Linked DNA regions of Homo sapiens: regions 2 and 3 are each linked to region 1. The links are contacts of gene promoters, found by promoter capture Hi-C in human tissues and cell types (Jung and others, 2019). All regions are on one chromosome and are shown on one strand. The core of a region is centred on a gene start or on the middle of the fragment in contact, and the rest is flanking DNA. Distances in the headings are between cores, read along the strand shown. Region 1 holds the start of COX5A (cytochrome c oxidase subunit 5A). Region 2 has its middle 8.6 kb from the start of SEMA7A. Region 3 holds the start of COMMD4 (COMM domain containing 4).

The links. The method cuts DNA at HindIII sites, captures the fragments that hold promoters and counts their contacts. A contact is called where the count stands out against the background at its distance.
Region 2: a contact is called between a fragment that was not itself captured here and the fragment with the promoter of COX5A in region 1, in 1 of the 25 tissues and cell types used here (spleen).
Region 3: a contact is called between the fragment with the promoter of COMMD4 here and the fragment with the promoter of COX5A in region 1, in 3 of the 25 tissues and cell types used here (dorsolateral prefrontal cortex, hippocampus and lymphoblastoid cells).

What each region holds. Positions count from the first base shown.
Region 1 is chr15:74,935,901-74,941,063 of GRCh38, forward strand. It overlaps COX5A (cytochrome c oxidase subunit 5A), which reads right to left and starts at 2,173. Exons shown (of 5, transcript NM_004255.4): 1 at 2,015-2,173. The coding sequence starts at 2,114. RefSeq lists a silencer at 1,867-2,426. The HindIII fragment of the contact is 14,403 bases long and covers 1-5,163 here.
Region 2 is chr15:74,440,019-74,445,181 of GRCh38, forward strand. No RefSeq gene overlaps it. Among named protein-coding and RNA genes, the nearest start is that of SEMA7A, 8.6 kb to the left of the region's middle. RefSeq lists enhancers at 1,764-2,273, 2,786-3,295 and a silencer at 2,640-2,824. The HindIII fragment of the contact is 4,445 bases long and covers 871-5,163 here.
Region 3 is chr15:75,332,925-75,338,087 of GRCh38, forward strand. COMMD4 (COMM domain containing 4) reads left to right here and starts at 3,139. Exons shown (of 8, transcript NM_017828.5): 1 at 3,139-3,168; 2 at 5,138-5,163. The coding sequence starts at 3,166. RefSeq lists enhancers at 2,973-3,022, 3,363-3,532. The HindIII fragment of the contact is 27,503 bases long and covers 1-5,163 here.

The sequences.
Region 1 (5,163 bases), core at 923-3,422:
ATTGTACTGTTACTTTAGCAAAACACAAAATCTAAACAAACATCAGGATGGCCCAAACATAACTATAAGAAACAAAAATGGTTCCACCATTAAAAAGGAGTCAGTTTCGGCCAGGTGTGGTGTCTCACGCCTGTAATCCCAGCACTTTGGGAGGCTGAGGCAGACGGATCACCTGACCTCACGAGCTCGAAACCAGCATGGCCAACATGGTGAAACCCCATCTCTACTAAAAACACAAAAAGTAGCCGGGCATGGTGGCAGGTGCCTGTAACCCCAGCTACTCCGGAGGCTGAGGCAGGAGAATCGCTTGAGCCAAGACCGTGCTATTGCACTCCAGCCTGGGCAACAAGAACGAAACTCTGTCTCAAGAAAAAACAAAACAAAACAAAACAAAACAAAAACAAACAAACAAACAAAAAAAAACAAGGAGTCAGTTTCCCAAGATGGACTTTGGTTTCCTTTTCTATAAAATAAAATGGCTTCCACGATCTCTAAAGTACACTCTAGGTTGGCTGCAGTGGCTCATGCCTATAATCCCAAACTTTGGGAGGCTGAGGTGGGAGGATCACCTGAGCCCAGGAGTTCAAGCCCAGCCTGGGCAACATAGGGACACTCCGTCTCTAATTTAAAAATAAATAAATAAACAAAAATAAAGTACCCTCCAGCCTTATGGTTCTACGACAAATGATAAAAGTCTAAAATGAATGAAGCAAAACATATTCTTTTTTTTTTTTTTTTTTTTTTGAGACGGAGTCTCGCTCTGTCGGCCAGGCTGGAGTGCAATGGCGCGATTTCGGCTCACTGCAACCTCCGCCTCTCAGGTTCAAGCGATTCTTGTGCTTCAGCCTCCCGAGTAGCTGGGATTACAGGCGCCCACCACCACACCCAGCTAAATTTTTTGTATTTTTAGTACAGACAGGGTTTCACCATGTTGGCCAGGCTGGTCTTGAACTCCTGACCTCAGGTGATCCGCCCGCCTCGGCCTACCAAAGTGCTGGGATTACAGGCATGAGCCACCGCGCCCGGCTGAGTTCTTTTTTTAATTTTTAACTTCAGCATACCCTGAAACGAGTTTCTGAGTTCTTATGTTTAAATACGCATGCATAGTTGCCAGTGATGCAGGTTCAAAAATAAAATATAATATGCATGCATAGAAGCTAAATTTCACGGACCAAGATCGAAGTGCAATTACTGTAATTATTCTATGGTGGTGGACTCAAAACCTCCCAGCACACATATAAAGGGAAGGAAAATAGACAAAAATCAGAAGCACGTCTCATACTCCAGCAATCAGGCTTCTATTACAAAGGGGAAAAAACACGAAGCGTTCCTATGCTTGTAAAACCCAGTATTCCTGTGTCTGTGACATTCAGTTTTCAAAAGAGTGATATTTTTATCATAAGCCCTATCAAAACTCTGGCTATCTTCCGGAGATCAGGAAACAACCACACACTTCCATCTATTTTAAACGTGGAAGAATTAGAACGTGGCACAGCAGACCCTAAAAATGATGGAAAAGGCTGTGAAGGTGACACACTAATCGCTAACCGAGAAATGCCTGATTGAAAAGTATAATCGTGTGTCCCATACGGAAGTATATTGTGTCCTCGGACCCCAAGCGGCGTGCCCGGAGGCTCAATGTCACCTTCGCCGAGGCGCTGCAGGCCGGCGGCGGCCACTCTCGGTCAGGTGGCCGCAGGGTCGGCGCTGGGGCAGGGTCATGGCCCGGGAACCGAAGGGGAGCGCTGCGTCCCCTCCTCGGCGCCCACAGCAGGTCCACATCTGACCTGTCCGCGGTGGCACAGCCAGGAAGTTGCGCGGGGGGAGGCCCCGGGGGCGCGCTTTCAGGTCCTCCACTACTCGAGGCGGCGGGCAGGGCGGCCCGCGGTCACCGGGTTCAGTAACCAGGGTAGGGCAAGGGCTAGGCCGGGGAGAGCCCGCCCCGGAGTGGCAGCGGGGACCCAGGTCACCGCAAGGACACGAGGGCGCGGGCAGTGGCAAGCAGGGGCCTTACCCACGGCGGGGCCGGGGGTCCGGGCGGAGTGCAGGAGGCCTCGAGGGTCGGCCCGGGTGGTTGCGGCCACAGCGCAGCGGCGGAGAGCGGCGCCCAGCATGACGGCGATGGCGGCGCGCGGGCTGAGGACAGAGAGAAGCCGGTGTAAGCTCGCGGGTTGCTCCGGAGCGGGCGGGGGCCGGACAGGCTCACAGCGGGCGGAGCACGTAGGCCCGCCCACTGCGACTCTGGCGCGTGGGCGGGAGGAGCCACCGCGCGGCCGGCGGCGGCGGGGGCTACGGCGGCGCGCTGAGGACAAACTGTTAGCCTCGCGTCCCGCCTTGTCTCTGGTCAGGTGACGTGCAGCTGCCATCCTGTAAGTAGGAATGGAGGCGAGGGAGGAGCAACCGACCGTGATCTTGTTCGAGTCAGGCCCAGGAGGGCACTTAATCACCTCAAAATAGGAATGACAGCAATAACAACAAACTATAATAAAAAATACGTACTTTGCGCCCGGGCGCTGTGGCTCATGCCTGTAATCCCAGCACTTTTGGGAGGCCGAGGCGGGCGGATCACCTGCGGTCGGGAGTTCAAGACCAGCCTGGGCAACATGGAGGAACCCCCGTCTCTACTAAAAATACAAAATTAGCCAGGCGTGGTGGCGCAACGCATGCCCGCAATCCCAGCTACTCGGGAGGCTGAGGCAGGAGAATCGCTTGAACCCAGGAGGAGGAGGTTGCGGTGAGCCGAGATGGTGCCATTGCACTCCAGCCTGGGCAACAAGAGCGAAACTCCGTCTCAAAAAAACCAAACAAAACAAAAACCTACTTTGCTTAGCCCCGCCTTCTCATTGTGGCATAAAATAAAACAGCGAATGGGGGAAAGAATGCCGCTGGACGCGGTTGCTCACGCCTGTAATCCTAGCACTTTGGGAGCCCAAGGCGGGCGGATCACCTGAGGTCGGGAGTTCGAGACCAGCCTGACCAACATGGAGAAACCCCTGTCTCTACTAAAAATGCAAAATTAGCCAGGTGTGGTGGCGCATGCCTGTAATCCCAGCTATTTGGGAGGCTGAGGCAGGAGAATTGCTGGAACCCAGGAGGCAGAGGTTGCAGTGAGTTGAGATCGCACCATTGCACTCCAGCCTGGGCAACAAGATCAAAACTCCATCTCAAAAAAAAAAAAGGCCTATGCGTAAGGGATTTTATTAGTACATATTCTTATATCACAAACCAGCTTGCATAAAAAATGAGTTAAACTACTTCATTTCACAGATTAGGAAAGAGGCTCAGAAATTAGGTTGCTGCTGGCAGTCAAGGATCTTTTCGCCACATCCCCAGTTCTGAGGACTCTCACCTGAATGTTTCCCATCTCCTACAGGAGGGCTCCTGAATCCACGATGGCTCTGAAATAGGGTTGATCAAGTTCCACAGTTGTTGCATCTTATCTCACTAGCTACATCCTAACTTTGAGCCCCTGGGCAGTCAAGGACACCTCTCCCAGGCCTGAAGTATCTGGATGCTGCCCAGAGTTAATGAGACATTGTATTCTGTCTTGCTGTCTCCCATTCTCTATCCCTGGGCACACTGAGGAAAGAAAAGGTGGCCATTCATGTGCCACTTCCTCACTTCAGGCCGACTCTCCAGGGCCTCAGCATCTGCCCTTCTCTTTTTCCTCCCTAGCAGTGTGGCTTCAGTGGGTAGGAACCTGGCGGGGAAAAGGATTTTTAAAATGTTTTCAAAGCACCTGCCCTCACCGTTTCCCACCAACCTAGTGCTGGGGCTTAGAAAACAATACCACAAAGTGAAGGCCTATGAAGCAGTTTCTCTCTGACCTTCTGCCCTCTTGTCTCTTGCCCCTTACTCTCCCTCCAGGCATGCCACAGAAACTAGAATCCCTCCTCCCCAAGAGGGGGTCTAGAAAGTAGAACCCCTTTGTCCCAAAGCCAGCCATAAAGCCTAAAAATATTGCTCTAACCTTTCTCTTTGCCTTTCTATGTAACAGCTGGCCATAAAGAAATTAAGGCCGAGCACGGTGGTTCACGCCTGTAATCCTAGCACTTTGAGCCGCCAAGGCCAGGAGATCACTTGAGGTCAGGAGTTTGAGACCAGCCTGGCCAACATGGTGAAACCCCATCTCTATTAAAATTACTAACATTAGCCAGAAATCACTTGAACCCAGGAGGTGGAGGTTGCGGTGAGGCGAGATCACACCACTGCACTCCAGCCTGGGTGACAGAGCTAGACTCCGTCTCAAAAATAAAATTTTTTAAAAAAAAGGAGAAAAGGAAACATGGCCAGGTATGGTGGCTCATGCCTGTAATCCCAGCACTTTGGGAGGCTGAGGTGGGAAGATCACCTGAGGTCGGGAGTTCGAGACCATCCTGGCCAACATGGTGAAACCCCGTCTCTACGAAAAATACAAAAATTAGCTGGGTGTGGTGGCGCACGCTACTCTGGAGCCTGAGGCAGGAGAATCACTTGGGCCCGCGAGGTGGAGGTTGCAGTGAGCCGAGATCGCACAACTGTACTCCAGCCTGGGTGACAGAGTGCGACTCCGTCTCAAAAAAAGAAAAAAAGAAGTTAAGGCTGGGCGCGATGGCTCATGCCTATAATCCCAGCAATTTGGGAGGCTGAGGTGGGGGGATCACCTGAGGTCTGGAGTTTGAGACCAGCTTGACCAACGTGAAGAAACCCCGTCTCTACTGAAAATACAAAATTAGCCGGGCATGGTGGTGCATGCCTGCAATCCCAGCTACTCAGGAAGCTGAAACAGTAGAATTGCTTGAACCTGGGAGGTGGAGGTTGCAGTGGACCGAGATCTTGCCACTGCACTCCAACTTGGGCAACAAGAGTGAAACTCTATCTCCAAAAAAAAGAAAGAAAAGACACTCGTTCCAGTAGTAGGGAGGACAGGGAGGAAGAAATGCTACAAAAGAGAGGCCAGAAGGATTTGAACAGACAGGCTTTGCTGGGTTTTCCCACTCAATCCATTTCCGTTAGCTTGGACCCTTTTTGTCCAATCACAATTCTACATATGCTTTATTGAACCTAAGCATAAAGGACGATTTTCCTTGTATCTATGGGTCTTCAGTCTGAAGCCTCCCATGTCACATAAAACTATGATCAAGTAAACTTGTTATGGTTTTTTCTTTTTAACCTGTCTTTTGT
Region 2 (5,163 bases), core at 1,843-4,342, 490 kb before region 1:
ACAGAGCTTTCTTCCCCAGTGGAAGACTCCCAAACAGTGGTCCTAAATCTGCCCTCTGAGGCAACAAGGACATGTCTAATCTCTCTTCCTGGAATACGGCCCTTCAGTGATTTCACAGAGGTCACATCCTTCTAAATCGGCTCTTTATTCAGGGTAAATAACTCCAGTTTCAAATAGATCCCTCATGGGGCTTTCCTTGAGAGGCTCTCTAATCCTGGTTGATTTCTAAGACACGATCAGTCCGTCATTTAGCAAACTTTTACTGACCCCTCCTAGGTGCTAAACAGTCCAGATTGTGTCTCTCTCTTTCAAAGATCAGGCCTCAGATCAGAACACAACACCTAGTGTGGAGGCTGAGCAGTAAAGGGCTGAAAGACTAGCTTCCTTCCTCCTTATTCTAGCACCTCTAAAGGCACTCTTAATGGGTTGAGACAACACGTTGTTAAATCCTCTTGATCTCAGCCCAGGGTTATCCCTGGGCCAATTCTCAACCATCAGTAGTGGCTCTCTGGGATGCTCATTTGAGAAAGATTATTGAATCTGGGCCCAGGAGAAGAAATGAGACTCGATTCTGCATAAGAGCAATTAATTTTCTGGTCCCCCTTGGCCGGGCGCGGTGGCTCATGCCTGTAATCCCAGCACTTTGGGAGGCCGAGGTGGGCGGATCACGAGGTCAGGAGATCGAGACCATCCTGGCTAACACGGTGAAACCCCATCTCTACTGAAAATACAAAAAATTAGCTGGGCGTGGTGGCGGGCACCTGTAGTCCCAGCTACTCAGGAGGCTGAGGCAGGAGAATGGTGTGAACCCGGGAGGCAGAGGTTGCCGTGAGCCGAGATTGCACCACTGCACTCCAGCCTGGGTGACAGAGTGAAACTCTGTCTCAAAAAAAAAAAAAAAATTTCTGGTCCCCACTGCAGGACCTTAGACTTTCTTTGCTTCTGTCCTTGTTAGGGTTACTTCATTGTCTGGGCCCTGATGCCATCTAGAACATTCACTGGCCCAGCTCTGAGTGCCTGGCATCTCTGATACACATACTCAATATCCACTTATAGAAATTGAGGGAAAACGTCAAACAAGGCACAACTGACGCTCCAAGAAGTTAGGTCATATGTGGAAAAGCAATCTAAACCTCAATCTGACTTAGAAGCCTAAGTCCCCTCCAAGACCTGAGCTGCCACTCCAAAGGTAAGTGGTTAGGAGACCCTTCGGCCAGCCAGGCACAAGGCCCCAGGTGGGTGCACTGATGGAATCATGCTGACACAATCCCACCCAAGCCCTAGAAAGGCCACTTCCCCAGCATACAGGAAGCACTCCTCTGTACATGGGGCTAATAATATCTAGTTTTCAGAGTCGCTATGAGGATTAACTAAGATGGCACATGTGAGTGCCTAGCTCAATGCCTGGCACAGAGAGGATGCTTGATAAATAAGCACTACTGTGCTGTGTAATGTACTATTAATATTAGCTAGTTTTGCCAAGATAGAGTAGGCCAGTGCCTGGGTTGCCACGAAAGCATTTCTAGCATAGAAGTTGAATTCTATTCCCAGCGATCTCAGAGCCTATGAGAACGAGACAGGCCCAGGCCCAGAGGAACTAGGGGCACAGCTGAACTGACCTGAGCCCAGCCCAGGGCCAGAGGGGACCCCACCTGCTGGAGAGGCTGGGTAAGCAGAAAGAGGGAGGCCTGAATAAACTCCCCAACATCCTCAACAAACACCCAGGGCCAAAGTCTGTGGCAACAGCAACAAGAAGCCACCTCAGGGTAGGGCTCTGTGAGCTTGGTCTGGGGCCCAGGCCAGATGGGACTGAGGCGAGGAGCAGATCTGGGGCCCATGTGCCCAGCAAGCTGTGCCAGCCCAGCCCATACCAGCCCAGCCAAATTTGAGTTATATCAGGAGAACGGATCTGTTAGAAAACTCACCCATCTCTACATATTTGCATATTCTATTTTGGGGTCTTTTCCTTTTTTTCCCTCAGCTTCCTAGAAAAGTTCTTGTGATCACTTCCAACTTCACCTCTGCTGAACTGCAAAAACTCACACTCAATCCCATCTCTCCTCTAACTACTATCCTCTCCCTCACAAGCAAGGTCCCCTGCCCTCTCTGCATCCACTGCCCCTCACCTATTCAGTCCTCAACCCCTGCTATCTGGCTCCGGTTCCATTGGAATGTCTCCCCAAGGTCACCAAGGCACAAGTCAACAAGTCCAAGGTCAGCCCTTCTGTTACTAGGTTTGTCTGTGGCATCTGACCCCACTGAGCATGCCCTCTTTGTCCAGGTCCTTTCACTCCCTCAGCTTTGCTGACTCCTGCTCTCACCTTCCCAGAAGCAGCAGATCCTGCGCCCGTTCCATGCCTCACATCTATCAGTCACCATTTTCTATAAAGCTGAACTCCTTAGTGGGTATCCCTTTTCCTCTACCTTTCTCTGAAAAGCTTAATTGCCTTCTCACATGACACAGGCCCAGTGTTCAACTTAGAACTTCCTGATCACTACCTCAGCCCAAAGACATCCAACTGTCTTTAATTATACACATCCCCACCTGGCTGTCCTATGGCACCTCATTCCAAATTGTCACCCCAGTCCCTTATTCTTACTGCTGCACCACCATCCGCCTGCTCACATCCTGCCTGCCTCCCCACTTTCAGCCCCCAGAGCTAGTCTGTCCTTCACACCTAGCAGCTCCCCTCCACCCAGCTCCCCTGCAGCAGCTCCAGTTGAGGCCCCCTCCATGTCCCATCTGGAGGATCCAGCCAGCCTCCTAGCTGGTCGCCTACCCCATCTCACTTCCCACAAATCCAGCCTCCACACAGCTGTCAGATTATCTCACACACAGATCTGGTCCCCCACTGCCCTGCCTGCAGCTGCCTCAGGGGTGCTCTTTGCCCTCAGGATAAAGCCCTAGCTCCTCAGCCGGATCTAAGCCCTCATCATCTCCCATTCCTCCACACTTCAGAGGCCAAGGGCAGTGGGAGGAAGGGCACCAGCTCTGGAGTAAGACAGACCTGAGTTTCTGGGACCACTTGTCCACTTCCTGCCCATGAGACTGTGGGCAGATGATTTCAACCCTTGGAACCTTGGTGTCCCCATCTGTTCAGTGGAGACAACAGTATACTCGCCTTTCCCAAAGATCTGGTATCAATTCTAACTCCTAAAGCCTCTCTACCTCCTCCTCTCCTTCCCCACTGCCACGCCGTCAGGTCAGCCTACCAGCAGCTCTAAGTGGATCACTGCCACAGCCTCCTCCCCGGCTTCCTCATGCCTGCCCTCCCTCAGTCTTCTACTCCCACTATACTCACCACACAGCAGCCAGAATGACCTTTCTAAAACACACATTGGACTCTCTCCCGATTGCCATTCTGTGACTCCCATTGTCCAGGGTAAGTCTAAATTCCTTACATAGCTTCAAATGATCTAGCCTCTGCCCACCCACTTGCCTTGCAAGCCACCCTGACAAACAGGGCTACAAAAGCCAGGTTTGCTCCCCACTCCCAGCCCCCTCAGTACATATACCTTCGTGCCCAATTCTCCCTTACCCTTCAGGTCTCAGCGTAGTGCCACTTTCTCCATGAAGCTTTCCCTCACCCTCACACCCCCACCCCTAGCCCACGTTAGCCCCCTCTCCTGTGAGCGCCACAGCCCCTAGACTTGCCTCGCCCAGTTCTCATTAGGCTTTAATGCAATCATCTGTTTGTCCATCTTACCAACAACACAGCATTGTCAGAGCAAAGATACCGTCATGTTTATCTGGCAGAGAGTGGAGGCTCAGTCAATGTTTGTTGAAAGGATGAAAGGAGGCCCGGCGCGGTGGCTCATGCCTGTAATCTCAACACTTTAGGGGACCAAGACAGGTGGATCATTTGAGGTCAGGAGTTTGAAACCAGCCTGGCCAACACGGCGAAACCTCATCTCTACTAAAAATACATAAATTAGCTGGCTATGGTGGCACATGCCTGTAGTCGCAGCTACTTGGGAAGCTGAGGCAGGAGCCCAGGAGGTGGAGGTTGCAGTGAGCTGAAATCGTGCCACTGCACCCCAGCCTGGGCGACAGAGCGAGACTCTGTCTCAAAAAAAATAAATTTTTTTAAAAAAAATAATAAAAATAAGAAGAAAGGATGAAAGGGACAATGGTGAGGAAAGAGTCCTTGGCTCATGGAAAGCCCCAGGCTCAGTGGGGGCACTTATCAGACTCAACATAGACTACTCAAAACATGGCCACAGGAAGCAAAGCCAACTTGCCAAGCCCCTGGAGGAAAGAGCCAACAAAGAAGGGAAAGGGAAACCGTGGGGACGGCTCTGTTCTGGGAACTGGTATTGGGGGTTGGTCCAAGGGATAGGGCAGGGTGACCCAAATGTTCTGCAGCATAATGGGATAGGGGAGTTAAGGAACCCCAGCACCTTTGAAGGCAGTCCTCAGAGGCAGGGTGAGAGCTGCCACAGAATGGAAACGAGCTCTGGGCAGGCTGTATCATGGGCACAGGAAGGGCTGTGTCAGCCCCATTTGACCAAGACAGACCCATGAGGATAGGACTGGCCTTTGTTTCCACCACAAACAAGCAAGAGACACTGTGTACAAAGACAGAGCTTCCTGGTCTTTGCTCTCAACCACAAGTAGGCAGCTGGGCTCCAGGCAGACCACTGAGGCACACAGAGGCCTGGCATTGAGAAGCCCAGTTCTGAGTCTTTTCTGTCAATGCACATAGAGAGACTTCTCAAATTTTCTGGAAGAGGCAAAGAATAACATCCTGTTCGGGCCATATCTGGACGTTAAGAGTATCACTGATACACTGGAGGTCATCCAGAAAAACGAACAGGATATGCTGGGAACCAAAACCATGACAGGTCAAAGGGGCAAGTCAATGACCCACCATGGCATTCCGTAAATAACTAAAGCCCTGCTAAGGTAGAAGAGGAAGCAGGCTTGTTCCGAGTGGTTCCTTAGGGCAGAGAGGGGACCAAGGGGTAATGCCCTGGCAAATAGTTAAAGGACAGAATAGGTTGTAAGTGGTAAATCTTTTGTTCCTGGAGGAGACAAGCAGAAACCAAATGACCATGACTGGGAATGGTGGAGATGAAACGCCTGCCAAGGCAGAGGGCAGGAGCACATCTCTGAGCCCCTTTCCACCCATGTTATTCCCAAATGAACCAAAACACCATCTG
Region 3 (5,163 bases), core at 1,889-4,388, 400 kb after region 1:
GGCATTCTGAAATGTATTCTGAGATAGAGACAAAACTTGTTAATATCCTATAGGGAGGTCAGGCATGGTGGCTCACACCTGTAATCCCAGCACTTTGGGAGGTCAAGGCAGGCGGATGACCTGAGGTCAGGAGTTCAAGACCAGCCTGGCCAACATGTTGAAACCCTGTCTCTACTAAAAATACAAAATTAGCCAGGTGCAGTGGTGGTCACCTGTAGTCCCAGCTACTCAGGAGGCTGAGGCAAGAGAATCGCTTGAACCCTGGAGGCGGAGGTTGTAGTGAGCTGAGATTGTGCCACTGCACTCCAGCCTGGGCGGCAGAATTAAATTCCGTCTCAAAAAAAAAAGGGGGGCCGAGCGCAGTGGCTCACGCCTGTAATCCCAGCACTTTGGGAGGCCGAGGCGGGCGGATCACGAGGTCAGGAGATTGAGACCATCCTGGCCAACACGGTGAAACCCCGTCTCTACTAAAAATATAAAAAAATTAGCCCGGCGTGGTGGCGGGCGCCTGTGGTCCCAGCTGCTCGGGAGGCTAAGGCAGGAGAATGGCGTGAACCCAGGAGGTGGAGGTTGCAGTGAGCCAAGATGGCGCCACTGCACTCCAGCCTGGGTGACAGAGCGAGACTCCATTTCAAAAAAAAAAAAGAAAATCATATTGGGAAATAAAACTGCCATCTTTGGGTGTTATCTTTTCCACTGGACAGAAACCCTAAGTTAACATATATACATATTCTCAAGAATATTCATAACATATTCTGTAGTATATTTCCCTACACTAGTGGTTTTCAAAGCATGGTCTCAAATGTCACCTGGGAATATAGACACGCAATGCTCAGGCCCCACCTCAGTCCTATTGAGTTAGAAACTCTGGTGTGAGGCCCAGCAGCCGGTTTCACAAGCCCTGCAGGTGATGATGATGCACTCTAATGTGTGAGAACCACGGCTCTAAATAGTCAAATCATCTTTTTTTTTTTTTTTTTTTTGAGACGGAGTCTCACACTGTTGCCCAAGCTGACTGAAATGCAGCGGTGCAATCTCGGCTCACTGCAGCCTCCACCTCCCGCGTTCAAGCGATTCTCATGCCTCAGCCTCCTGACTGGCTGGGATTACAGGCACCCACTACCACACCCTGCTAATTTTTTTTGTTTTTTTTCAGTAGAGACAGGTTTTGCCATGTTAGCCAGGCCACCGCTCTCGAACTCCTGACCTCAGGTGATCTGCCTGCCTCGGCCTCCCAAAGTGCTAGGATTACAGGCATGAGCCACCGTGCCCAGCCTTTATTTATTTATTTATTTATTTATTTATTTATTTTTATTTTATTTTATTTTTCTGAGATGGTCTCCTTCTGTTGCTCAGGATGGATGGAGTACAGTGGTGCCATCATGGTTCACTGCAGCCTCCACCTCCCAGGCTCAAGAGATCCTCTGACCTCAGCCTCTTAGGTAGCTGGGACAACACGTGTGCACCAGGACAAGCGGGTAATTTTTTGTAGAGACTGGGGTCTCCCTATGTTGCACAAGCTGGTCTAGAACTCCTGGGCTCAAGCGATCCACCGGCCTTGGCCTACCAAAGTGCTATGATTAAAGGTCTTAACATTCTTAAAAAATTTTTTTGACATGGTTTAGGATAGTCTAGTAACTTAACGTACTGTTGTTTTCAACAGGCTAGTGGTTATGATTTGTAAAAGAACTCTTCAGAAATGAGCTCAATTTTACCATGAATTGGGGACACTTTACATTTCTATTTTATAGTGCAGTTTAATTGTCATGGGCTCTGTCTTTTAAAAACCTGAAAGCCTGCAACAATAAAACCAGCTGCACCTGTTGCATGGGATAGGCATGGAATTGAGGAGAGAGCTCAAACTACAGTCAGCCCTCTGTATCCTGAGGTTCTGGATCCTTGGATTTAACCAACTGTGCATCGAAAATATTTGGAAAAAGTAAAACAATAAAAAAACACAGGTCGGGTGCAGTGGCGGGCGCCTGTAGTCCCAGCTACTCGGGAGGCTGAGGCAGGAGAATGGCGTGAACCCGGGTGGCAGAGCTGGCAGCGAGTGGAGATCGCGCCACTGCACTCCAGCCTGGGCAACAGAGCAAGACTCCGTCTCAAAAAAAAAAATTAAAAAACTTTATAACAGCTATTTACAAAGCATTTACGTTGTATTAGGTATTATAGTAATCTAGAGATGATTTAAAGTATACGGAAGGATGTGCACAGGTTATTTGCAAATACTATGCCATATTATATCAGGGACTTGAGTATCTGTGAATTTTGGTATCTCTGGGGTCCTGGAACCAACATCCTGAGGTTACCAAAGGACGACTGTATTCAATTTTGTCTCTGGTTATTAGTCTATTCTCAAATGTATTTTTCTTGTTGTTTTGTCTTTTTGTTTTTGCCTCTTCAAGTCAATGTCGGAAACTTAGTTGTTCTAGACTACCCATTAGCTCAGAGCTACCAGTAATCAGACTACCACTGCAACCTAAGCAACCGATTTTTCTTCCCCATCAGACTGGCAAAAATTAAGATAAGCATCTATTGATGTTGAAGCTGTAGGGAGTTTTCCTGAGCAAGTAATTATGACAGCCCTTTTTGCTAGGCACCTAGATGATTCATCAAAATGAAATAAAATACCCATGCACTTGAAGAAGTTATCTGGTTTATTTCCTTACCTGGGTGCTGGTTATGTGAGGTGTACAGTTGATGAAAACTTATTAAGCTTTATAATAGGTACAATTTTCTGTATGTGTAGTAGACGTCAATAGTTTTTAAAATGTCTTTTGCCACAGCCCGCAGCTGTGAATAATGCTATTCGCTTAACAGTGGAAAACGTGTCAATGACCTGAAACACCCTGGCTCCCGGGATCCTACCCCCTTAAGTTAAACAAATGAAATAACTTCCACTGTCTTTCCTAATGTCTTAATTCGGTCCTCAGTTAAACTGGCGGTTGGCGCCAGTTTTTTCCAGGGAAGGATTCTGGGAGACGGAGGAGGAGACGCCAGCATTTCGCCCCCTGCACCTCCAGCGGGCTGCGGTCCGCTCCCGGCCTCACTCGAGCAGGCCCCGCCCTCCCAGAGGCAGTTAGTCCAAGTCACGTGATCGTCGACTCAGCTGACCCTGCGGGACCGGAAAAAGAAATTCCCGGGCCCTGGCTTCTTGGCGCGATGGTGAGGCACTAGGGGCGAAGCGAGGCTTGGGCTGCTGGAGCGGGAATGAGGGGGCGCCAAGTGGCTCCGGAAACTGGGGGAGGTTGTACTGGCCTCTCCGCAAACACAGTGTGTGCGGGCGTGAGGGCTGTGAGTCTGGTAGGGAAAAGTCCACCACTCTCCCGCTCCCGAGACGGGGGCGGGGGTACGGGGCGGGTAAGACAGAGCAGGCCGGCCGGCTTAGAGTCCCGGTGCTTCCCTGGCGGAAGGAAGGGCCCCTGCCTCCCGGGGCAGGAACTAGGGCTTGTCTGGAGCTGGGAGTCCTTTCAGGTCTTCCCCATCCCCAAGAGGACCTCCCAAGGATACCCCCTTCCCCAGCCCTGCCGTGGGGCTTGTACAAGAAGGTGCTTAGAATCAGGCTCACTCTTCCACACTGTTAGGAAGCCCCTCCGCTCTTTCCAGAGCCAGAAAGTAGTAGTTTTGGGGTTGAGACTTATCCATCCATCCATCCAATCCATCCATCCGTACGTTCTAAGCGCCTGGTCTATACCATGAAGTGTGCTAGGCACTGGGAGGACTTGAGCTGCCAAGGGAAGGGGAAATCGGAGGCTTGAATTGGAGTCATAGCTAAGGCTCCAGGGGCAGAGACCTAACTGCGCCTTGTGTGTAGTGCTAAGGGGGCTTCCTAAGGATGCCATCAAACTTAAAGGCGGATGGATGGCAGGAGCTGGCTGGCTGAAGTACAGTTTGTGTACCAGGGGTAGGGAGGCAAGGGTGGGAGACGTGTGTCTTCAGACAGGGAACAGCATGTGCAGAGACTTCAGGTTAGAGAGAGTATGGCTCCCCAGGAATGGATGCATTTCCCATAGCTGGGAGAGTATCATCTGCAGGTTAGGGAAAGATGAGGCTGGACAAGTAGAGAACAAATCTTCCTGGCTCTTGGATCACCACAATCAAGATAATGAACGTATCCACTGGCCTCCATAATTTCCTTGTGTGAGGGGCTATTTTAAGAAGTATAATCAAGAAAGGCTGTTCTGGCTGGGTGCGGTGGCTCATGCCTGTAATCCTAGCACTTTGGGAGAGTGAAGAGGGTGGATCACCTGAGGTCAGGAGTTCGAGACCAGCATGGCCATGGCACTCCAGCCTGGGCAACAGAGGGAGACTCTGTCTTATTTTTTTATTTTTTAAAAAAAGAAGGGCTGGTCTGATGTGTCACTTAAAGGATAGCAAGCCACTGGCCAGGCGCCGTGGCTCACGCCTGTAATCCCAGCACTTTGGGAGGCTGAGGGGGACGGATCACTTGAGGTCAGGAGTTCAAGACCAGCCTGGCTAACATAGTGAAACTCTGTCTCTACTAAAAATACAAAATTAGCCGAGTGTGGTGGCACATGCCTGTAATCCCAGCTACTTGGGAGGCTGAGGCAGGAGAATCACTTGAACCTGGGAAGCGGAGGTTGCAGTGAGCCGAGGTCGCGCCATTGCACTCCAGCCTGGGGAACAAGAGTGAAACTGTCTCAAAAAAAAAAAAAAAAGGATAGCAAGCCACACAGAGAGTGCAGCAGGCATGGAGGCGGGAGCAAGGCTGGTGTGCCCCAGCAGCAGCAGGGAAGCTGGAGTGGCTGGAGTTGTGTGGGTATGGGGAAGAGGGGAGAGAGTTCACTCGTCTCTGTGAGGCCCAGGACTTTGTTTTATCCCATGCTGTACCCCCAGCACTTAGAGTGGGAGCTAGCACAGAGAAGGTGCTTAATTGATGTTTGCTGAGCAGATGAATGCCTGGAGTAGACCTCAGAGCAGGGTTTGGTGGCAGGGTGGGTCAGGGAGAGAGTTTACTCAACAGCCTGGTGATAGGGGAGAACAAGAGGCCAGAGGGTATCCATCTATGTCGGGGACCAGGGGTCCCTGGTGGGCAGCAGTGTGGGAGACACACGGATCCTGGCCACACCTCAGGCCTCCCTCCAGCCTGATTACCTGCCTCCCTCCCTTGCAGAGGTTCCGGTTCTGTGGTGATCTGGA